Linked DNA regions of Homo sapiens: all the other regions are linked to region 1. The links are contacts of gene promoters, found by promoter capture Hi-C in blood cells and fetal thymus (Javierre and others, 2016). All regions are on one chromosome and are shown on one strand. Each heading gives the region's core, a stretch centred on a gene start or on the middle of the fragment in contact. The rest is flanking DNA. Distances are from core to core; before and after follow the strand shown.

The links. Contacts are between HindIII fragments. The CHiCAGO score rates a contact against its expected background, and 5 or more counts as called.
Region 2: a contact is called between a fragment that was not itself captured here and the fragment with the promoter of MPC1 in region 1, in 2 of 17 cell types (M0 macrophages and neutrophils). The highest score is 8.4, in M0 macrophages.
Region 3: a contact is called between a fragment that was not itself captured here and the fragment with the promoter of MPC1 in region 1, in 1 of 17 cell types (neutrophils). The highest score is 5.7, in neutrophils.
Region 4: a contact is called between a fragment that was not itself captured here and the fragment with the promoter of MPC1 in region 1, in 1 of 17 cell types (M0 macrophages). The highest score is 5.0, in M0 macrophages.
Region 5: a contact is called between a fragment that was not itself captured here and the fragment with the promoter of MPC1 in region 1, in 1 of 17 cell types (naive CD8 T cells). The highest score is 5.2, in naive CD8 T cells.

What each region holds. Positions count from the first base shown.
Region 1 is chr6:166,380,887-166,385,549 of GRCh38, reverse strand. It overlaps MPC1 (mitochondrial pyruvate carrier 1), which reads left to right and starts at 2,610. Exons shown (of 5, transcript NM_016098.4): 1 at 2,610-2,744. The coding sequence starts at 2,674. MPC1-DT (MPC1 divergent transcript) reads right to left here and starts at 2,372. Exons shown (of 1, transcript NR_189630.1): 1 at 1-2,372. RefSeq lists silencers at 1,938-2,677, 2,828-2,927 and an enhancer at 3,288-3,467. The HindIII fragment of the contact is 5,196 bases long and covers 1-3,696 here.
Region 2 is chr6:166,158,518-166,163,201 of GRCh38, reverse strand. It overlaps TBXT (T-box transcription factor T), which reads left to right. Exons shown (of 8, transcript NM_001366285.2): 6 at 579-755; 7 at 2,236-2,365; 8 at 4,614-4,684. Among named protein-coding and RNA genes, the nearest start is that of TBXT, 7.0 kb to the left of the region's middle. The HindIII fragment of the contact is 1,276 bases long and covers 2,016-3,291 here.
Region 3 is chr6:166,203,971-166,208,214 of GRCh38, reverse strand. No RefSeq gene overlaps it. Among named protein-coding and RNA genes, the nearest start is that of LNCDAT, 38 kb to the right of the region's middle. RefSeq lists an enhancer at 1,623-2,822. The HindIII fragment of the contact is 385 bases long and covers 2,041-2,425 here.
Region 4 is chr6:166,177,347-166,181,858 of GRCh38, reverse strand. No RefSeq gene overlaps it. Among named protein-coding and RNA genes, the nearest start is that of LNCDAT, 12 kb to the right of the region's middle. The HindIII fragment of the contact is 2,335 bases long and covers 681-3,015 here.
Region 5 is chr6:166,518,591-166,523,168 of GRCh38, reverse strand. The region is part of intron 3 of RPS6KA2 (ribosomal protein S6 kinase A2); the gene reads left to right. Among named protein-coding and RNA genes, the nearest start is that of MIR1913, 11 kb to the right of the region's middle. The HindIII fragment of the contact is 8,410 bases long and covers 1-4,578 here.

The sequences.
Region 1 (4,663 bases), core at 1,361-3,860:
AGGTTTCAGAACCACCATCCATGAGGAAAAGAAACATATTAAGGGCTAAGACAGAGCAGCTATGAGATCCAGGAACCTGTTAGCACATGGAGAGTCTCCTTTTCCACCAATCTTGCAGAGCAGTTTGGCTTCATTCAAGAAGCCACTCAGTTTCCTTATACCTACCTTCTGGGTTGATGTGAGAAGGAGAAATAATGTACAAATAGTGCCTAATGATCAAGAAAAGGTAGCTATTAATAATATTATTATTAATAATCAAGACTCCCTCACTTTTCACAGGTTGTACATTCCTAACCCCATCATGAAGCATGTTCATGTGGAACAGAACAACCTTCCTGGTGTTCAAGACTGCAATATTGTGTAATGAGATACACTTTCAGTGACGATCAAGGTCAGCTGTGACCAATAGAGACCACGATCCTAACAGAAAATGAACCCCACTCAATCAAGGGCTTACCATTTTCATTCTCAAAGGCATTTCTTCTTAACACCACTTATTTTGAATAGATAGCATAAGTAGACTGTACAAATTTCAAAAAGAACAAAGGAAGATACAATGAAAAGTCAGTGTCACTCTTGGTCATCCTTAGAGGCAGCCACTACTAACATTTCTCCAGTATCTTTGCAAACATGAATGTATATATTTTCTTTGTCCCTATGCACAATGAGTAGCATACTTTATACACTATTCAGAACCTGGGTTTTTTTCTTGAAAATAAAAAAGATATTTCATATCAGCACATAAAGAATTCCTTTATTCCTAATGGCTGTATACTAATCCACTAAACGGATGCACCATAATTTATTTAACTCTCTCCCTATGGGTAGATATGTAAACTCTAATCTTTCCATACTAAAAACAATGCTGTACACATGAAATTGCACAAACTGGCTTGTCTATCCTAGGAAATCTCTAGATGGGCTTGCTGGATCAAAGGGGATGTCCATTATTAACACTAATACACTGCGGGTCACTAATGTTGAGAATTCCTGTTCACCAAAGGCATTTCTTTTATTTTTTATTTTAGAGACAGGATCTCCCTCTGTTGCCCAGGCTGGAGTGCAATGGCACAATCTCGGATCACTACAACCTCCACCTCCCGGGTTCAACCGATTCTCACGCCTCAGCCTCCCGAGTAGCTGGGATCACAGGAGCGCATCACCACGCCTGGCTAATTTTTGTATTTTCAGTAGAGATGAGGTTTCACTATATTGGCCAGGCTGGTCTCAAACTCTTGACTTCAAGTGATCCACCTGCCTCAGCCTCCCAAAGTGCTGAGATTACAGGCGTGAGCCACCGCACCCGGCTACCAGAGGAATTTTGTTATATTTATTTGTTTTTTTTGGAGACAGGGTCTTGCTCTGTTGCCCAGGCTGGAATGCAATGGCGCAATCTTGGCTCATTGCAACTTCCGCCTCCCGGGTTCAAGCGATTCTTCTGTCTCAGCCTCCCAAGTAGCTGGGACTACAAGCACATGCCACCACGCCCAGCTAATTTTTTTATTTTTAGTAGAGAGGGGGTTTAACCGTATTGCCCAGGCTGGTCTCGAATTCCTGACCTCAGGTGATCCGCCCGCCTCGGCCTCCCAAAGTGCTGTGATTACAGGCGTCAGTCACCGCGCCCGGCCACCAGAGGCATTTTAAATGATCGTCCACATTAGAAACAAAACGAAACGAAACAACTTGGAAAAGTGAGCAAAAGCCTTCAATGTGTTCTTTTCTCTGCCTTTGTGATCCGAAAGTCGTGCTGCGGTTTATATACTCCTAGGCGAGGGTCGCGTGCTAATGATCCCTTTCTTTTCAATATGCACCCGCGGTGGGACTTACAGAACCTTTATTTTCAACACGTAAGCAGTCACGCTTCCTCGAGCCTAAGGCTTTGTGCTATTCTTAAATGCTTTCCTCCTCCGACGCTGCGGCTCCCTCCTGAGCCCGTAGCTGCAGCGCGTTGGTGAGGAGCGCCGGCCCTGGGTGCCGCCCGCCACCCTGGAGGGACCGGTCCGGGGGAAAGTGCTCGGGAGAAGCCAGGGGCCCCGGCTGCGGTCGCTGGCCCGGGGCTCTGCGCACTCCCCAGTGCCCGGAAACCGCAGGCTGGCCCAGCTTGCGGGCCGGGTCCGCCCACGTGGGTGTGGGAAGCGCAGGGGACGCGGGCCGCCCGGCCAAGGTGCCCTTGCCAGGAACCGGCGCAGACACAGGCCCTGGGCGGCGCGGGAACCCGGCCAGTCCCACCGCGCGCTGCGCCGCAGGGGCCCCACTGCAGGTCGCCCCAAGACCGCGCGACGCTCGGCAGGGCGCCCACAGTCCTGTGGGTCAGAGAAATGTCACCTCCACGTCCCCGCTGGCCGGGAGCCGCTGGAGCCTAGCAACCGCCTGCCAGCCCCGGCCCAGCCCCAGCCGTTTTACGGCAGCGGGCCCCGCCCCCGTGCGCCACCGAGGGCGGGAAGGAGGCGTGCGGCACGAGCCAGCCAGTCCGCGCCACCATCTCTGGCCCTGCGCCCTGTCATTGGCCGAGAGCCGGGCGGCGCGGCGCGGCCGTAAGGCGTGGCCGGGTGTCGTGAGGCGGGCCTTCGGGCTGGCTCGCCGTCGGCTGCCGGGGGGTTGGCCGGGGTGTCATTGGCTCTGGGAAGCGGCAGCAGAGGCAGGGACCACTCGGGGTCTGGTGTCGGCACAGCCATGGCGGGCGCGTTGGTGCGGAAAGCGGCGGACTATGTCCGAAGCAAGGATTTCCGGGACTACCTCATGAGGTGACGAGCGCCGCAGGCCGAACCCCGCAACCCGGAGGGGCTCCCGGGAGGCTGCGACCCGTGCAGTCCGCGACGAGGGCGGCCGCGAGGACGCGGTGGCCCCGGGCAGCGGGTGGGCCGGGGCCCAGGCGAGAGGGTGCGCTTGTCAGGGGGGCCCCACCCGGATCCCTCCCGGACCGCCACACCCCGAAGCGGACGGCGTAGAGAGCCGGTGACAGTGGGCGCCTTTCAGGGCGGGGGTGACAGTGGGCGCCCCTCAGGGCGGGGGTGACAGTGGGTGTCCTCTCCCGGCAGGGTGACAGTGGGCGCTCCTCAGGGCGGGGGTGACAGTGGGTGTCCTCTCCCGGCAGGGTGACAGTGGGCGCCCCTCAAGGCAGGGGTGACATTGAGTCCCCTTCAGGGAGTGGGTGACGGTGGGCGTCCCTCCTGGCCAAGGTGACACTGGGGACGCCTCTCCTGGTAGGCATAACAGTGGACGCCCTTCCCGGCCAGAGTGGCAGTGGGGACCTGGAGGGACGAAAGCGACGGCGCTCCTCAGGACAGGGTGACCATGGGGACGCCTCTCCCGGCAGGGGTGACAGTGGGCGCCCCTCAGGGCAGGGTGACCCGGCAGGGGTGACAGAGGCTCGTTCCTCTCCCATGGTTGGCAGTGGGCACGTCCCTCCGGGCCAGTTGACAGTGGCTCGCTCCTCCGGGCGGGAGTGGTTTCCTGGCCGGTTTCTACCAGATCCTCGGAGTGGGTCGCCGGTCACCTGCGGCCGTCCAGGTGTGCCAGAGGCGGCGACCTGGGTGTGGGGTGGGGAGACGCCAGCGGGAGGCGCTGCTGAGAGCGCGGCGCGGCGCTGTTGGAGCGGAGCTTCGGGTGCGCCCAGCGCGCTTCTGGGACAGCGGAAATAAAATGTGCTGGCCTTGGGTTCGCCTTTCGGTTTTCTCATTCTAAGGACTTTAAGCTTGGGAGGAAGTACAATTTAAGATGTTTTTATATACGAAATTCTGTCAACCAAAGTAAAGTGACGTGTCTCTAAGGTCATACTTTTTCTTCTTGTTCTATTTTCTGTTAACTCCTCCTTTCCAGTTAGAAACAAAGAGCATTCGCGGTTGGAAAGCCTGAAAATACACTTTCTATAATTTATTTGCACCTCTCATCTTGGGGCGCTTGCTTTTATTTCAAAATATTGAATATAACTTTGAAGCAGTTTTAGGTTATTTAGGAGTGTAATTTTAGTTAGTTTTTCAGTGTATGATTTTAAAACCTAGGTACGTGTACAGCTGCGGTTTTTTTTCGGTAGTTAATAGTGTGGTCAAGAGGTAAAGAGATGAAAGCTGAGGAGGAATAAATCCTGTTATAACCACACAAAAGGGATAGTATGAAGGCAACTTGATTTTAGCAATAAAAAAGTTTTAAATCCTGAATTTTATTGCAAATACTGTTTACTTCTACTTTTATAGAGCAGTAGGGTAGGAAAAATAATTCAGTCTGCCATATGGTAAACTTGTAAACAGAAGCTTCACTTCTGACTTTCAAAAAAAGACATTTCTATGCTTAAATAGAACTACTATTAATTAAGATGGGTGTTTAGCACTGTGGAGCACAGCAATGTATCAGATTAATGGTAGTAAAAATGTGAACAAGGTAGCAGTCTGAGGGTATGCTCTCAATCCTTGCTGTTAAGTTTCTCTACAGCTTTGAATATTACTTTAGCTTTTTACTAATGTGTTGGATACTGAGCCTTCCTAATAGGTACAGCTAAGGATAACATTGTGTGGTAAAATTAAAAATACAGTTATGACACCTAGCTATATAAAAATTATGCTGATAATTACTTAACCGTTTTCTTTTCTTTTTTTTTTTTTTTTTTTTTTTTTGAGACAGAGTTTGTCTCTTGTTGCCCAGGCTGGAGTGCACTGGCACTATTTTG
Region 2 (4,684 bases), core at 1,404-3,903, 220 kb after region 1:
TCTAAGCACCACCCCACCTCTCTCAGCATCTCTCACCTGCTCTCTGCCTGTGGTTACATTGTATTCATGCTCAGTGGAGGAAAGCTCACCTGCCTTGGGGAATAGTAGATCTCAAAGCAATCCAGAGGATTCTCAGGAGGAAACAGCTTAGGTTGCCTGAGGCCAGGCTCCTGGGTTTACTCAGGTACACACAGGATTGGAAGCCTTGGGTTACCTGTGGTAGTGAGTGTGGGGCTGATGGCCTCAGATGTCTTGTGAGGCAGACTGTGTCCTAAGTATGAGACACTCAGGGTGCTTCCCCCATCAGGGGCCCCTGAGGGGAAGGTGGGAAGTCACTGGCCTGGGCTCTGCTCTCTGGAGTGATGGAGGGACAGTCCCTGGCCTGGGCTCTGCTCTCTGGAGTGATGGAGGGAGAGTCCCTGGCCTGGGCTCTGCTCTCTGGAGTGATGGAGGGAGAGTCCCTGGCCTGGGCTCTGCTCTCTGGAGTGATGGAGGGACAGTCCCTGGCCTGGGCTCTGCTCTCTGGAGAGATGGAGGGAGCACTAATGCAGGTTACTCAGCACTGTCTTTTCTCACAGCAGGGGGGTGGCTTCTTCCTGGAACCAGCACCCTGTGTCCACCTGCAAATCCTCATCCTCAGTTTGGAGGTGCCCTCTCCCTCCCCTCCACGCACAGCTGTGACAGGTACCCAACCCTGAGGAGCCACCGGTCCTCACCCTACCCCAGCCCCTATGCTCATCGGAACAATTCTCCAAGTGAGTCCTCAGCCTCATTCTGCCAGGGGTTGGTGGGTGGCTGCAAGACCACTTTGGGAAAGGCATTCTGCAGGAGTCTAGAATCTAAAAAAATGGAGACGGTTTTCTGGAACACATACCCAAGCCCAGTTTTTTAGTAGCTCAAGAGAAGATCTTCAATTTATGTCTCCGCCACTGCCGCTGCTGGCGGAACAACCACGGACACCCAGATCAGAGGCTTGCATCCTTGCACAGGCCTCAGAGCTGCTGCTCCAGGTTTTGAAAATGACAGATTCCTGGGCCTCTCCACAGAACCATGGTCGATCCTTAGGAGGAGAGCCCAGGTTTGAGTCTTCTATGAACCTCTCTAAAGTGACAATGATGGGCAGCCAGGCTCAAGAATTCCTGACTACACCAGTGATTCTCCAAATACGGTGCCCAGGCCAGAGCCTCAGCACCACCCGAGAGTGGGCACAGTCTCAGGCCCCACCCCAGACTGACAGGCAGCAGCTCTTGGTGGGGCCCGGCAATGTGTGCTTTTTTTTGAGACGGAGTCTCGCTCTGTCGCCCAGGCTGGAGTGCAGTCGCACGATCTCGGCTCACTGCAAGCTCCGCCTCTCGGGTTCACGCCATTCTCCTGCCTCAGCCTCCCAAGGAGCTGGGACTACAGGTGCCTGCCACCAGGCCTGGCTAATTTTTTTGTATTTTTAGTAGAGACGGGGTTTCACCGTGTTAGCCAGGATGGTCTCGATCTTCTGACCTCGTGATCCACCCGCCTCGGCCTCCCAAAGTGCTGGGATTACAGGCGTGAGCCACCACGCCTGGCCAGTGTGCTTTTAAAAGCCTTCCAGGCCATTCCGATGCATGCTCCAATATTAGGAACACTGGGATAGACCATAAAGATCCCCTGGCCTAATTCTCTCTATAACACTGTATATGTCTAGACTTAATTTTGTCTGGCTCCAAAAGAAGGAAAATAGCTAAAGAATACCATAAAACAATTAAGCAATTAAAGCTGATTTGAAATGAAAGGACCTTATTGGGTTAGGAAGTCACTGGGACTTGTTCAACCAGAGGCTAGACTCTGAGGCAGGAAGATCTTATTTCTAATTTTGCCTGGAGTAATGGTTTCTATCGCCCATTCTTATGAAGTAATCACTGGTAAAAAGGCAGGGTAAAGTTATATTTATTTTTAAAGATAAGTAATTCCAAGTCAGTGATTGTAAGTAAGATTCAATGTCTACAGGGCATCTACTGATAATGATGATAAGGGAAAAAGCTTGGGTTTACCAGGGTATGTTTTCAAATACATATATTTGGCAATAAATCTTGCCCCTGATAACCATGTAAATAGACTAATGGATTGTTTTCTACAGTTAATATCCCATGTACATTTTGTTTTCAGTGTTACGTAGCTTCAGTTATTGGTGGTATTTCACTGTACTTTGTTGTTCTTGGAAGACACCATCTATAATTGCACTTTGTTACCTTCCCCCCTTAGCCTATTCTGACAACTCACCTGCATGTTTATCCATGCTGCAATCCCATGACAATTGGTCCAGCCTTGGAATGCCTGCCCATCCCAGCATGCTCCCCGTGAGCCACAATGCCAGCCCACCTACCAGCTCCAGGTAATGTATGTCCAGGACCTGGTGCAAAGCATCCTGGGAGCTCTGCCTGTGACTTCACGCTGTTTCCATTCCCATAGGCCCTTAGTCCTTATTCTCCTTGGTCCCTGTGGGTGGTTGGGTCTTTATTTAGAATTCTTTATTAGCCAGCTATGCCCAGGGATTGCAGGTGACATGACTGCCGAGTTCCTGTTTGCAGTCTGTTCGCTGGAAGGACTGGGCTCCTTTACAACCCAGGTGTGGAATGGGAGCTGCGCTATCCCATCCCTGAATGAAACCAGGGTCCCCATCCTGGTTCTGCCACTTACTGGTTCACGTGATGGACAAGTCTTTTAGCCTCTCTGGGCCTCAGTTTCCTCACATATAAAAGGAAGGTGGTAAAAAAATAACCCAGCCTCGGCCTGTCTCCTACAGGGTTGTTGGGGTCAGTAGGTAGAGCTTAAAGAGATCGTTTCGGAACCTTTTCCAACAAAAGCTAGTAAATGAAGGAAATGAGTTTATTGGCTTTTCTATGGATACAGGCTCGAAGTCTTTAATATATGTGCTAGGTAACTGGTAAACAATGATGACTATTTTGTTACCAACTTGCAAGTTATGCAGAGGGAAAAAGGCTTACAAATTAAGCAGGCTGGTAAATGTCTTACATTTCTTCATAGGATGAATATAAAAACCTAAAATACCAAAGCTAGAAGTCAACCCTCACTTTCTAGGGAGGAAGGAGGGCCAGAGATATTAAATGATTGGACCAGCTCACAGCAGAGTGAGCCTGGAATTAAGTGATCTTGACCTCAAAGGCAATGCACTTCATTTTCTAGAATACCAAAATATGCCTGCGATCTTAATTCTTGTCTAGAAAACAGTTCCTTCATAATAAGAATTCAATTGCCCGCGGTTAGAAACAGAGCAACAATGCGTAAACAAGCGAAGCTTTCAGGGGCTCCAAGAGCATCGCCCCAGAAGCCTGCACCCGATCAGATGACCCGCACACTGCAAGCTGTTGACAGAGGCCCCACCCGAGGGTCTCAGTGTGGCTCTAATTGGGCATCTTAGAACCTGAAGCTTTCATTTGTAAAATGGCATAAAAATCTGCCTTGATTAACTCAGACTTGTTTAAAACAGTATGGTGATACAACATAAGGTCTCATTATTCACTTGTAGAAAGACAAGGTTATTTCCCAAAATAAAATCTTACCATAATTGAATGCTATCCACTTCCATGTGCTTAGACTGGAGAATTCAATAGTCATTTCCACCTTCCTCATTTTATGCCTTGAGAAACACAGCCTATAAGTAGTCTCAGGCAAAGTGTAATGTGACACAGCTAGGTAAAGGCGGAACTGGGAATGGCTTCCTAGTCTGACTGCCAGGTGCTTTTCTTGCTGCTGGGCACCATGCTAGCACACCTATGTACTGAACAGGACAAAGTGCAGGGAATTGTGTCTGTACTGGAGTTACTCTAAGGAATGTCTGCTGCTTAGTGTTTGAGGAGAGGCTGGTCTTCATCGTGAGAATCACTGCGGTGGTGGGGGTGGGGTGTCCTAGATAAAAACATGTGTACTTAAGCCCATCCTCAGTAACTTTTGGTTGAGACTATCTGAAAAGTTTTATTCTGAATGAGAGTGCAAAACTACTGGTCTGAGTCTTTCTTTTCTGTTTTGTGTGTTTGTTTGACGGAGTTTCACTCTTGTTGCCCAGACTGGAGTGCAATGGTGCAATCCCAGCTCACTGCAACATCTGCCTCCCGGGTTCAAGCGATTCTCCTGCCTCAGCCTCCCAAGTAGCTGGGATTACAGGCATGTGCCACCATGCCCAGCCAATTTTTTGTATTTAGTAGAGACGGGGTTTCACCATGTTAGTCAGGCTGGCCTTGAACTCCTGACATCAGCTGATCCACCTGCCTTGGCCTCCCAAAGTACTGGGATTACAGGCATCACCCACTGCGGCTGGCCTGGTATGAGTCTTTCGCAGTGAAACTTAACAGCGCTCTTTCATGAGCTCTGAATATGTGAATAATCTTTTCAGTCATCTTCCTGATGATTTTGTTTCTTATTAATAGATACGACAATAACTTCTATACATCACAGAATGTGCTTGTGAGTCCTTTAATAATTTGGAGAAAATGACCTGTTTGAAAGAAGAAAACTGTCATATTACACAGTCACTCCGAATGGGATTTCTGGTGTGTTTTTCCATCCTTAGCTGGCCTGCAGCCCCTGCCCAGGCCCTGCTCACTGGTGTCTTTCTGTTGCAGTCAGTACCCCAGCCTGTGGTCTGTGAGCAACGGCGCCGTCACCCCGGGCTCCCAGGCAGCAGCCGTGTCCA
Region 3 (4,244 bases), core at 984-3,483, 180 kb after region 1:
AGGCTGAGGCAGGAGGATCACTTGAGGCCCTGGTTTGAGGCCAGCCTGGGCAAGATAACAAGACCCTGTCTACACATACACACACAAACACACACACACACACACATAGACACACACGTAGGCAGGTCTGTGGCCAGGGCGTTGGGGCCCCTGTTATAAAGGACGCAGATGAACGGTCAGGTGGGGAATATGCAGGGTGAGGTCTGAAGGGTCCTGAGTGCAGCAGCTGGGGGGTGCCACCCTCCTGGCACCTGGATACGTTTACTAACCTGGAAGCTCATCAAATACAGTTATTAAGAGATTTTATAGAGGTTGATTACCAGCACCCCCACTCCCTTTCCCAGAGGCAGGTGGGTGAGGCTGAAAGTTCCCACCCTCTACTGGCATGGTCTTTCTCATGCCCACCCCATCCTGAGGCTGTCCCAGGACCCAGCCTCGCTTACTTTGTTAGCAGGCACTCAGGTGTGATGGGAAGGGGCTCCTGGCCAACACCAAAGACAGCCCTGACACTCAGGAAAGGCGTTTAGGGGCTGCGTGCCAGGAATGGGGGACAAAAACCCAATTTATTTAAAATAAAATTTTTTAATTTAAAAATTGTTTCAGAAATTAAAAAAAAATAATTTTTTTTTTTTTTTACTTTTGAAAGCTGTTTAACTTTTTTTTTTTTTTTTTAAATGAAATAGATTTCTTGTCATTCCACAGGGTGGTAGAGATCAAATCCAGGATGGGACATGAGGGCTTAACCCTAACCCTAACCCCTAACAGGAAAGACCTGTGCTTCTCAAGCAGGGGAAGCACCCCCAGGAACTGAGGAGAAAAGGGCCCTTCAAGAGCAGGTAGTGCACAATTCCTGGGCATTGACTGCACCTGAAGATACGCGCAAAAAACCATTCTTACAACGAGAAAGCAAACACAAGTACTTTAAGCAGTAAAAGGAAAGTTAACGAGATTTTTTGAGTAAAACATGTGACTTCAAAGAGATTTTTACCCTTGAAGTGAGCTGAGTCCCAGATGTGCTGGGCTGTGAAGTCGCCTTCCTCTGACACTGGTGGGTCTTCAGGGAAGCCGGGGAGAAACTGTATTAGTCTGTTTTCACCCTGTTGGTGAAGACATACCTGAGACTGGGTAATTTATAAAGAAAAAGAGGTTTAATGGACTCACAGTTCCACATGGCTGGGGAGGCCTCACAATCATAGTGGAAGGCAAAAGGCATGCCTTACATAGCCGCAGACAAGAGAGAGTGAGGACCAAGCAAAAGGGTTTTCCTCGTAGAAAACCATCAGATCTCGTGAGACTTACTCACTGCCATGAGAACGGTATGGGGGAACTGCCCCTGTGATTCAATTATCTCCTACCAAGTCCCTCCCACAACAAGTGGGAGTGATGGGAGCTACAATTCAAGATGAGATATGGGTGGGAACACAGCCAAACCATACCAGAAACAGTACCTTTTTTTTTTTTTTTTTTTTTTTAAGATCTATAAATATAAAGGCAGTGTAGAAACCTCAGGGAGCCTGGACTTGGCACAGCCTAGAACTAACACAGTTCAGATTCGCTTTGCCTGGAGGACTGGAAGGATGGGCCTGCCTGGGGTATGAGAGACCAGAGCTTTCTGGCAAAAATCCTCAGCCCAAGGTTAGGCACAGTGCAAATTTGGTCCCAGGACATCAGGCCAGTTTGAGAGGCCCAAAGAGCTATGCCTGAGTCCCAGAGGCCAGTGGATTAGTTCAAGAACATTAAACCAAGGTGTGTGTTGCAAGAAATTTCGCTAAGGTGTTTGTTGCAAAAGATACATTAAAATCTTAAGTCCTGGGGCCTGTGAAGTGGCCTTCTTTGGAAATAGGATTTTTGCAGATGACATCGAGATGTGAGCTAGGATGAGGTCATCAGGGTGGGTCCTAATCCAACATGACTGATGTCCTTACTGAAGAACATCTGAAGAGGAGGAGAGACACACGGGGTCATGGCTGTGTGAAGACGGAGGTGGAGACCGGGCTGACGCACCAGCAATGCCAGAAGAGGGAAGAGGGGAGGGAAGCTTCCCAGGAGGGAGCACGGCCCTGCCGATACCGTGATGTCAGGCTTCTGGGATCCAGAACTGTAAGGGAACAAATTTCTGTTGTTTAAAGGCACCCAGTTTGTGATGCTTTACAACACACCACAAATGATGGATGACGAATACAGCATCCATCATAACACAGAAGCCCAGTGACCCAGCAGCCGCGGTGGCGCGCTCTGGCAATTTCCAAAGAGACCGCTGCTAGCGTCCCAGCAGTTATATCCACACTGAGTTAGACACTAATGGGGTTTGGGACACAAGACCCTGAAATCTGGCACCTTGCATATTCCCGCAGTTCACTGCCATCAGGTGACACCCGCTCTGTGTACTCACCCTTTTCCACCACTGTCCGCTCTCCATCAAGCTTAGCCTAAAGATACACAGGCCTCCCTGTGCCTTTTGGTCTTCATATCTAAAGGTGCCTGTGTCATGTAAAAATTACATACAATGAAATAAATTCGCCTGCTTTTCTCTTGTTTATCTGTCTTTTATGATAGGTGTCTCAGCCATAAACCTAGCAATGGGTGAGGAAATAACTTTTTCTTCCCTTACAGAACTGGATTCAGCACCGCAAAACTGAAACCGCCTCCAGAAAAGAGCCTCTTGCGAGAACGCAGAGGCTTGCCTTTCTCTCCTGTCGCTGAGAGTCCCTGGCTGGCTTGGGGACCCCATGGTGCTGCTCGCTCTTGCCTGTTGCTGGTGGGGGCTTCCTGCTCCTGACCTCATACTACCTCTGCGGCAGAGGGCCTGAGACAGAGGGGATCCCTGCCCATCCCGCCAGCCCTCTTCTCAGGAAGCTTCTGGAATCTCCACCCAAAAACTTCACTGACATTCTGCTGACCAGAGCGTGGTCATATGGCCACCCCATCTCACAAGGGGGCTGGAAAAATGCATTTTCTTCAGCTGCGCACCTTATACCCCACAGCAGTACCTACGGGCCTGGTAGTGAGGAAGAGGATGGGTAACGGAAGTTAGGTCAGCAGCTAGCAGTGTTGGCCACCAGGGGAGAGTCACAGCCACTTTCTGGGCCTGGTGGTGACTTCACATTGGTTGCCAGGAGGATGATTTTGAAGATACCGTAAGTGTTAGTAATAGTAACGCTGCTACCGGAGTGCTAGGAATGATGGCAGCTGGGGCTGGAGCTCCTGCTGAGCTGGGGAGAGAGAGCCTGGCTGTGCTTTCTTGTTTCAGTTTGTTTTGCTTTGTTTGTTTTACCTGCAGGCCTGTCGAGCCCTCTTGTAACTAATCTTCCAGTGTCTGCCGCTGAAGGTGTCCAGTAGCTAACTTCAGGACTCTGTCATCCCCTCTTCATTTGGGGGAATTTCCTCTACTTACTTGAAACATTCAGATTTTCCACTGTCAGTTTTGGGTGAATGAACTATGCTTATTACTTTTAATAAAAGTCTTCAAAATCTCATCAGTGCCATGTCTTTTTCTTAGGCCTTGAAAATCATTCTTGGTTTATTTTTGAGAAATATTTAGGCCAGGTGTCGTGGCTCATGCCTGTAATCCCAGCACTTTGCGAGGCTGAGGCAGGAGGATTACTTGAGGCCAGGCTGGGCCACATATCGAGATTCCGTCTCCACAAAAACTAAAAAATTAGCCAGATGTCATGGTGCATACCTGTAGTCCCAGCTACTTGGGAGACTGAGGTGGAAGGATGACTTGAGCCCAGGAGCTTGAGGCTGCAGTGAGCTATGACACTGCCAGTTCACTGCAGTATGGGCAACACAGTGACACCCTGTCTCAAAAAAAACACCAACATTAATTTAAAAAAATTCAAATAGTCATGAAAATCGTTCTTGATTTCAGTTTTAGAGTGCTGCTTATTATTTTGAAAGACTTAATCTTAGTTAAATTGTATGTTCTGTTTCCAAATTTCTCCTTACTTGTAACTTAAAATTGATGTCTCCTTTATATATTGAAATGTCGTTTCTGAGATATTTCAGTCGTGAGATTTTTTTCGGTTTGGTGCTATTCTGGTGTCTAATAATAATCACTTAGGAAAAAACACAAAGATAATTTCCCAGGCTTAAGTGTTTTTTTTCTTTAGTAGATTCAATGTACCTTTAATTTCACTAAACACATATTGAGAGATTCACTTCCCATTTTTACACAGAGCCCGTCATAATGTCCTAATTAATAAGTGTGCTCCATATACTTGGGACTAAAAGAACAGAAAATT
Region 4 (4,512 bases), core at 599-3,098, 200 kb after region 1:
CTACTCAGGAGGCTGAGGCAAGAAAATCGCTTGAACCCGGGAAGCGGAGGTTGCAGTGAGCTGAGACTGCGCCACTGCACTCCAGCCTAGGCGACAGAGTGAGATTCCATCTCAAAAAAAGAAAAAAGTTGCCATTTGGCCGGGTGCGGTGGCTCACGCCTGTAATCCCAATTTGGGAGGCTGAGGCGGGTGGATCACTTAAGGTCAGGAGTTTGAGACCAGCCTGGTCAACATGGTGAAACCCTGTCTCTACTAAAAATACAAAAAATTAGTCAGATATGGTGGCAGGAGCCTGTAATCCCAGCTACTTGGTTGGCTGAGGCAGGAGAATCGCTTGAACCTAGGAGGCAGAGGTTGCAGTGAGCCAAGACCCCACCATTGCAGTCCAGCCTGGCAACAGAGCAAGGCTCCTTGAGGGGGAAGAAAAAGTTTCCATTTATGGTAGCAATAAAAATTAATTATCTAGGAATAAATTTGGAAAAATATTTGCAAGCCCTTCATGGAGAAAGTTATTAAGCATTATTAAGAGACATTTTAAAAAAGACCTAAATAAGCAGAGGTGCTGCCTTCATGGGCAGAAATCCTGTACGTTGAAAAGGTGTCAGTTCTCCAGTCTGATCTTGAGATTTAATGCCATTTTAATAATTTTTCTTGGAACTTGACAAGCGAATTCTTAAGCTTATATAGAAGAGCAAAGATCTGTAATAGATAAGACATGATAGTAAGTGGTGGGAGCTTGTCCTATATGATATCAAGCCCTAATTTAAAGCTACATAGCACTCAAAATGGGACAGATAAAAGTATCAATGAATTAGAATAGGAAGCCCAGAATCAGATAGCCCAGAATCAGATGCAGAAATGATTTATGTCAGATTTATTGCTGATCTTTGGTGAAGCAATTGATGATTCAATCAATGATGCAGAGTCGACCAGTTTTCTCCACTGAAGTTGGATCTCTATCTCATCTTAGGCACGGAAGTCAATGCTAGGTGGACTAGAGTCTGAAATGTAAAAATGTAGAACTATACAATGTAAAGAATATGGAAGACTGTCCTGGGGATGGAAATGGCTCTTTCAGATAAAGTCACAAAGGGCATAAAATGCAAAGGAAAGGTGTGATATATGTGATTATATTATGTTGGGAATCTCCGGTCACAAAGGACATCAATAAGGAAGTGAAAAGGCCAGTCACAAAGTAGGAGAATGTTTTTCTACTTATAAAGCTGACAAATGATGAGTACTGGCATTGTAGAAAAACTCCTGTAATTGTTTTTTAAAAAATATTCCATGGCATACTCAAAAAGATTTTGTGGGAAAATTGGAAAAATGTGATTTAAAACCATGACATCCTTTTTTTATACGCCTCACACTGGAAAACCTCTTAAAATCTGACAGTATCGAGTATTGGCTAGGATGCAAAGCCAGGGGAACCCTTCCTCAATGTTACTGGAATATAAAATTAGTGCAACCTCTTTGGAAAACAATTCAGCATATTCTAAAAATACTGAAGACAGACACTACCTAGAAATTTCCCTTCTAGGCTTATATTCACCTACAGGAACTTTTGCACATGGACATCAAAAGATATAACAATTTTCTCATGAATCTATGAGACAAATAGGAAAATTTGGACACTGGCTAGTTTTTGATGACATTAAGGAGGTCTTGTTTATTAATTTTAGGTGTGATAATGATATTATGGTTATGTTTAACCAAAAATAATCCTAGGTTTTAGGGATACATACTGCAGTACTTCCTTTATGGATGGAAAGATGTCCAGTAATCCTTCTAAAATCATCTGGGGGTGGGGGTGATTAGGGTGGGGAGACAGGTAGAGCAATATTGTCCATGTGTTCATGACACTATTCTCTAACCATCACCCCTGGTCTGGTCTACATGCCCATGCCGTTGGCAGGGAAGGCCCGTGCAGCAGAGAGCCAGAAAGTGCGGATGGTGCAGAAATGAGGAAGTGAGGACCTTCCACATAGGTGTGCGGACCGGCCCCGCCTGTGTTCCTTTGCTGCTCACTATGTGGTTTAAATGGATACATTAAACTTTGTGATTTGAGGATCTTAATTTGGCTGGTGAGCTATTCTGTTTTGTGACCTCTGTGACAGCTTTCCTGGGGGTGAACTGCAAGGCTACCTTTGCATCAAAGTTCACTTCCCAGGAGCCTGTCACAGCCCCGCTTTCAGTAACCGCGTCCTCAGTCACAGTACCATGTGCGCTCCCTTCTAGCATGGGAAGAGAATGGTGAGGCCAGTTACTCTTTTGCCTTATTTCTTAAACAAACTCCTTTAATAGCATAGAAATATGTTTTTAATTTTCAAATAGCATGTCTAATATGTTACATGTATGACAATCAGTTGAGGGGGGACCCACAAAATGATGCCCTCACACAGTGTGGGAAGAGGTGCCATGGGTGGGATGGGGGAGGATGGAAATTAGTTTTGGGTAAGGGAGTCTGGATGAATAGGCACTAATAAGTAGTCAGTTAATTAAAGACTAATTTAATTTTACTAGGACTTTGGCTTCCCTACACAATGTTGATCTCAGATCAAGACTTGGGTGGCAAGACCCTCTTGACTGTCTAGTTAGAATCAACAGACTGGGGCAAAAGTCATTTTGGTTAAGAAAGGGGGAACAAAGGATTTCCAAAAAGACAAGATGCCTCTAATAATTGTTAACTGTTAATAACTGGTAAATATCTATTAATTCAGACCACTGTTAATTTCAATCTAATCTCTAAATTTGAGTACTCTCCACCAAGAAAATGTGAGGCTATTGTTCAAAAATGATGGCTTATTACAGTAATAAGGGCCATAGAGCTCATAGCCATAGAGCTCACATGAATTCAACTCAGGTGAGTTCAACTCAGGTGAATTCAACTATAAATAACTCAGGTGAATTCAACTATAAATGTTTAGCCAAAAACAGAACAAAAATATCTAAACTTTGTACCAAAATGCAAGTCAGCAACTTCATCCAGTGCAATGTAAAAGCTAGAGGAAAGCTTGGCTGTATTGGGTTTATTACAAAATGCTGTGCACAAAAACATATTTTCTTTGTAAGCAAATAAAATTTTAAAGATATTTGAGCCACACACTTCAACTTTAAAACCTGCCCCTTTTAGATAAGGTTCTGGTCTCTTCTCAACAGATCCAGGGGAGAAAAGAGCAGGCCCCAAGTTTCCAGCTGGCCAGACAGGCTGTGGGTTACATTTCATTCCCTGGCAACATGGGAAGAAGTGAAGCGGCCAGTGCCTTGGTTTCCTCATCTCTAAGCAAGCCATCAGACCACCGCATGAGAAGGTTGTGAAAGTCCTTGATGACTGGGATAATTTTCTTAACGCGCTTGGAACCCAGGCCTTCCAGCTTTCCCTCCTCCTACTCTGCCTTCCTTGAGGATCTGAGTTACATCCCGCTGGTTTATCTCCAGTGCTATTACCTGGTGATGACCAGTGAAGGCTCTAGATTCCCACAGGAAGAAATTCTGGCTCCCAGGTTTATGCTCCTTATTTCAATTTAATTTTATTATTATTATTTTTATTTTTGAGTCTCGCTCTGTTGCCCAGGCTGGAGTGCAGTGGCGTGATCTTGGCTCATTGCAACCTCCACCTCCCAGGTTCAAGTGATTCTCCTGCCTCAGCCTCCTGAGTAGCTGGGATTATAGGCATGCACCACCACGCCTAGCTAATTTTTGTATTTTTAGTAGAGATGGAGTTTCACCATGTTGGCCAGGCTGGTCTCGAACGCCTGACCTCGTGACCCACCTGCCTTGGCCTTCCAAAGTGCTAGGATTATAGGCGTGAGCCACCGACCGCACCCAGCCCTATGATCCTTATTTCTAAAGTAGGCCGACATGTGATTTTTGGACAACCCTAAAAGCTCTGTAGGCTCACATTAGACCTGTGACTGCAAATGCAGGTGTGAGCCCTCCACTGGTGAGCTCACCCAGTTCCATGACTCCATACCACTCCTGTCCTGCCAACTCCTGGATGTATCACCAGCTCGGACCTCAACCCTGAGTGCCAGGAGATCCCACGGCCTAATGGGCCCCTCCACATGGCCGTGTCTCTCAACCCTCCACATCCAACCTGTCCAGCAAACCCTGTGGGCTCCACCTTTGAAGTTTGCCTAGGGTTTGACCCCTTCTCCCTGCCCACCTCACTGGGCCAAGGAGATGACATGTCTTACTCTAATCGCTGCAGTGGCCCAGTTAGGTTTCCTACCTCCAATCTTGTCCCTGTCATTCTCAACACAGCAGCCAGAATAAATCCCCTCCTGCATCAAATCACATCAAAAATTGAATTGTAATCTTCAATATTACATATTCCTGTGGACTGAATTGTAAGGGCACTTGGGAAAATTAAAAAGTTAATGAGCTGTGGGGACGGAGCTAGGAGTCACTAAAAATTTAGTCATGTATTCTTCCATTCCATCGGCAATGACTAAATGCCTACTGTGACACCTGGTGGGTTATTGCTATCATAGGCATGTATTTTTTTAAAAA
Region 5 (4,578 bases), core at 821-3,320, 140 kb before region 1:
TTTATTACAGATACACCCGCCTCTGTATGGTGGAGTCCTCTATGTGTTTATTACCAGAGTTGCATTTCTTGAATTACAGATATTCAAAAAGGAGGAAATAGATTTTTTTCATTACTTGTCATCTTTAATACCTCTGCAGTGTAAGTAGTTAAGAGTAATGGGCTTAAGATTTTTCTGACAAAGATTCTCTATTAAGGAAGTCAGTTAAGTAACCATATCAGTCTTTTAAAAAATACTTGAGTATAGAAGAATAAAAAGACACCTGTTGGGGAGTCATGCCCATTCTGGTAATCAGTGTGGTTAACTTTGCTTCTTATTATTTATGGTTTTCTTCTCTTCCTTTATGTGTGGAGTAATTCACTGTAAAAAGTTTGCCCCCAAAAGTTTAGCCACACGATGGCTCGTGGAAGTCCGTTTTTTACTATGAATTAAACCTTTGAAAGCTAAAAGATACTGTGGGAAGAAGGACTTTTATTCTGCATCTGGGAGACTGCTCGGGATATAATTTCAGGCTCAATAGCCTTTATGGGGGTAAAGAAAGGAAGTCTCAGGCAATGGCCGCGCAGTGGGGGAGACCGAGCTAGCACAGCCCGCACTCTCCAGTGCTGGTAAGTCTCAGGCGAAAGTGTGTCTGTCGGCTCAGTCTTCAAAATCCCTCCAGTTGCGCTGCATCAACCACAAAGCATCATCGAGCCTCTGACTGCCAGGCCTTCAGGTCACCAAGGCCGTCTGCGTATGCTCAGCCCCCCACAGAGGTGTGTGCAGAAGCCAAGGTCCCGTGGGTTTGTGGCAGCAGAGCTATTGGCACTGCACGGTCAGTGCGGCATCCACTACGTCCCCAACACAGTGGTTTCCTTAGGTGCATTTACACAGCCATTGCTCATCTTCACAGCAGCTGACAGAATTGCATTTAATTTAATTTTATCTTAACCTTAATTTTCTTTTGTATTATCACCTAGATAGAACAGAACAGAACAGTATGCTATAATATGATACGATACGTGTCTTAGTTCATTCAGGCAGATATCACAGAACATCATAGATTGTGTGGCTTCTAAACAACAGAAATTTTTTTCTCACAGTTCTGCCACAAGTCCAAGATCCAGGCTGTGTCAGATTTTGTGCCTGGGGAGGGCTGCTGTCTGGTTCATAGCCATCTTCTGGCTGTGTCCTCACTTGATGGAAGGCATGAATGAGCTCTCTGGGGTCTCATTTCTAAGGGCACTAATCTCATGCATGAGGGCTCCACCCTTCTGACCTAATCACCTCCCGGAGGCCCCACCTAAAACCATCACACTGGGGGTTAGGTTTCAACATATGAATTTAGTGGGGGGAACATACACAGTCTATGGCGTTCCACCCCAGTCCCTAAAATTCATATCTTTCCCACATTCATCCCATCTCCATAGCCTCCGCTTCATTCCCACATCAACTCAAGTCTAAAGCCCAACATCTCATCCAAATCATATGGTTTCCTCTGATCCCCAATGTCAGTATCTCTGCGATCTCTCTGTATTAGTGAGATCCAAGGTATGATTCATCCTGACCACAGTCACCCTCCAGCTGTGAGCCTATGAAAACACACGAGCTCTGTGCCTCAGAAATCCCGTGGTGGGACCAGCATAGGACAGACATTTTCTTTCCGAAAGGAGAAATAGGAAAGAAAAGGAGTAACAGGTCCCAAGTAAGTCTAAAACCCAACAGAGAAAATAACATGGAACCTCAAGACTCCAGAATAATCCTCTTTGACTAGATGCTGTGCCCTCCAGACCCACTGGAGCAGGGGTCCTGCCTTTTGGACATAACGAGTTGGCGGTTCTGCCCCGGAGCTTTGCAGGGCAGGGGTTGGCTCTCCAAGTCCCTGGCCCCACAGCTTTGGGTGGCCTCCCACAGCTTTGGGTGACCCAATCCAGTGTAGTTGGATGGCCCTACAGTGGTTCTGTGCCTGGACCCCAGCCTTTGAAATTTAGGTAAGGGCAGCCACACCCCCAAGGCTCCTGCACTCCCCATGGTGGGGAAAAGAGAACCACACAGTCACTGCCAGCCTTTGCCACCTGCTCCCTCCAGAAGGCAACTGCTGGGGCTCACAGGGCACCAGGGTCTGCCCAAGGCAGAGCTGCACCCGGGACAGCCAGGGACAGCAGTGCTGGAGGGTGGGCAGCCCATGATGTGAGGCAGTGCCCTTGCAGTCCCAGGCACCAGTGGCCCCTACTTTTAAATCATTCTACCCTGGGGCTCTTGTGCCTGGCCTGACATGGGTGGGCAGCCCTGATGCTCTCTGAGTTGGCTGCAGGGTCATGTTTCTGTTGCCTTGGAGAATCGCTGCCGGCTTCTGTGGAGATGGCTGGTCCATACTGACTTCCTATCAGCATTCAGGATTCCTTAGTTATTCCCTAAGAAGATGTAGGCCTTCTCTACAGCTCTCCTTTTCTTTCTGAGTCCTCACCAGAATCACATTGAAAGGTCTGTTCATGGCAAGATAGGCCTTTTCTAGCTGTATCTCAGAACTCTTCCAACCTCTACCCATTACCCATTTCCAAAGCTACTTCTACATTCTTAGGTTTTATTATAGGGGCATCCCACTTTTGGGTACCAAATTCTGTATTATTCAGGATTTTCCAGAGTAACACAACCAACGGGATGGATATACATTTCTTAGAGGGAGATTTGTTACAGGAATCAGCTCACATGGGTATGAAGGCTGAGAAGCTCCAGGAGCTTCTGTCTGCAAGCTGGAGAACCAGGAAGGCTGGGGTGTCATTCAGTTCAAATCCAAAGGCCTGAGAACCAGGAGAGCTGGTGGCATAAGTTCCAGTCCGAATTCAAAGTCCCAAGAACCAGGAGAGCTGGTGGTATAAGTTCCAGTCTGAATTCGAAGTCCCGAGAACCAGGAGAGCTGGTGGTATAAGTTCCAGTCCAAATTCAAAGTCCTGAGAACCAGGAGAGCTGGTGGTATAAGTTTCAGTCTGAATTCGAAGTCCTGAGAACTTGGTGTGGGGAGAGGAGTGCAATGGTTTAAGTCTCAGTCCAAGAACCAGGCACTGATGTCCGAGGGCTGGAAAACATGCATGTCCCAGTTCAACAGGGAGCAGATTCCTCTCCCACTGCTTTTTTGTTCTATTCTGGCCCTCAGTGGGCTGGATGGTGCCTGCCCATATAGGGGAGGGTGATCTTTACTCAGTCCACCAATTCAAATGTTGATATCTTCCAGAAACGCCCTCACACACACACCCAGAAATCATGGTTCACCAGCTCTCTGGGCATCTCTTAGCCCAGTCAAGTTGACATGTAAAACTAACCACCACAATATACTACATAATGTAATATACATATAATGTCTATTGGTGGAGATCATTTAAAAATCAGAAACACAAAGCAATGCCTGCATTGCTGCCTGAAAAGAGGCACCTTGAAGAGGGGTTCCAGAAAGTAGCTCTAGTTGCATATCATATATCCTATGCCTGCCAGGATAATCTCACAAAGTGCTTCCTCCCGTGTTTTCCTGGGAAGGAAACCAGTGTGCCCTTCACAGTGGGGTGAACCTGTTGGTGCCTCCACAACCATCTCAGCCCCAGGGATTGTCTTGGGGCCATGACAGGTGAAGAGCACATGGCAGTTAGAGCTGGTACCAGTAGGCACAGGTTGCTGAACAGAGCAAAGTAAACCACGGAAACTACATCATCCAAACCCGAAACGCGGCAGGTTGGCCACAAATAGAGGGCTAATTTGAAGGACAATGAAATTTTAACTTATCCCCAGTGCCTACCATTTATTAGCGAATCTCAAGATAGCCGAGAACATTTATTCTTTTCACATCTATAGTAGCAATCCCCAGTCAACTCCAGACTAACCTGTTAAGTACCAGAGAATAAACATCACAGAGACGCTATAGCCTGGGCCAAATGGCCTGGCTCCAGAGTCTCCAGTAGTCTAGAACTACCCAACAGGAAATTGTTGCTGACATTTCTGAAGAAACCTCTTCACTTGGTTTTCTTTTTTATACATCTAGATCTTAGAAATGAAAACTCCTTGGACTCCCTGGCTGTCAAAGAGGCGGCTTGAACGTACTCAGCATCAGAAAATGAAACATTTGCTTTCACTGTCTGTTTCTTAGTGGAAGAATCACTCCATGGCTGTCAGTTGGCAGATCCATGGTTGCAGCTCTCTCATTCCATCCCTGGATATGGGCCATGAATGACTGACACCACCTAGGGTGGGCAATGGTGAGGTCAGTGGATTGCAGCTCTGCCCAGCAAAGCTAGAATTTGCACAGACCTGAACATCTTCCCTAGTCCCTCTTGAAGAGCCATTTCCAGTCCTAGTATTTCATATGCTGAGGGCATTGCTTGGTGTAATGACTGTCCTTGTCCCTTGACATCTTGTTTAGTTTGTCCTTGCATTCATATATGGAAACTAGGCATGGTCAGTTACACAGTGTTGTCAGCAGTAATATAGCCCTGCCCTGGAATGAACACATCCTTTTCCTGTTTTCTGCCACCCTAAACTCAACATATACTTGTGTTAGGCCACATTGTGCCTGGGGAGTCAACCATACAGAACATTCTTATAAAAACGTCT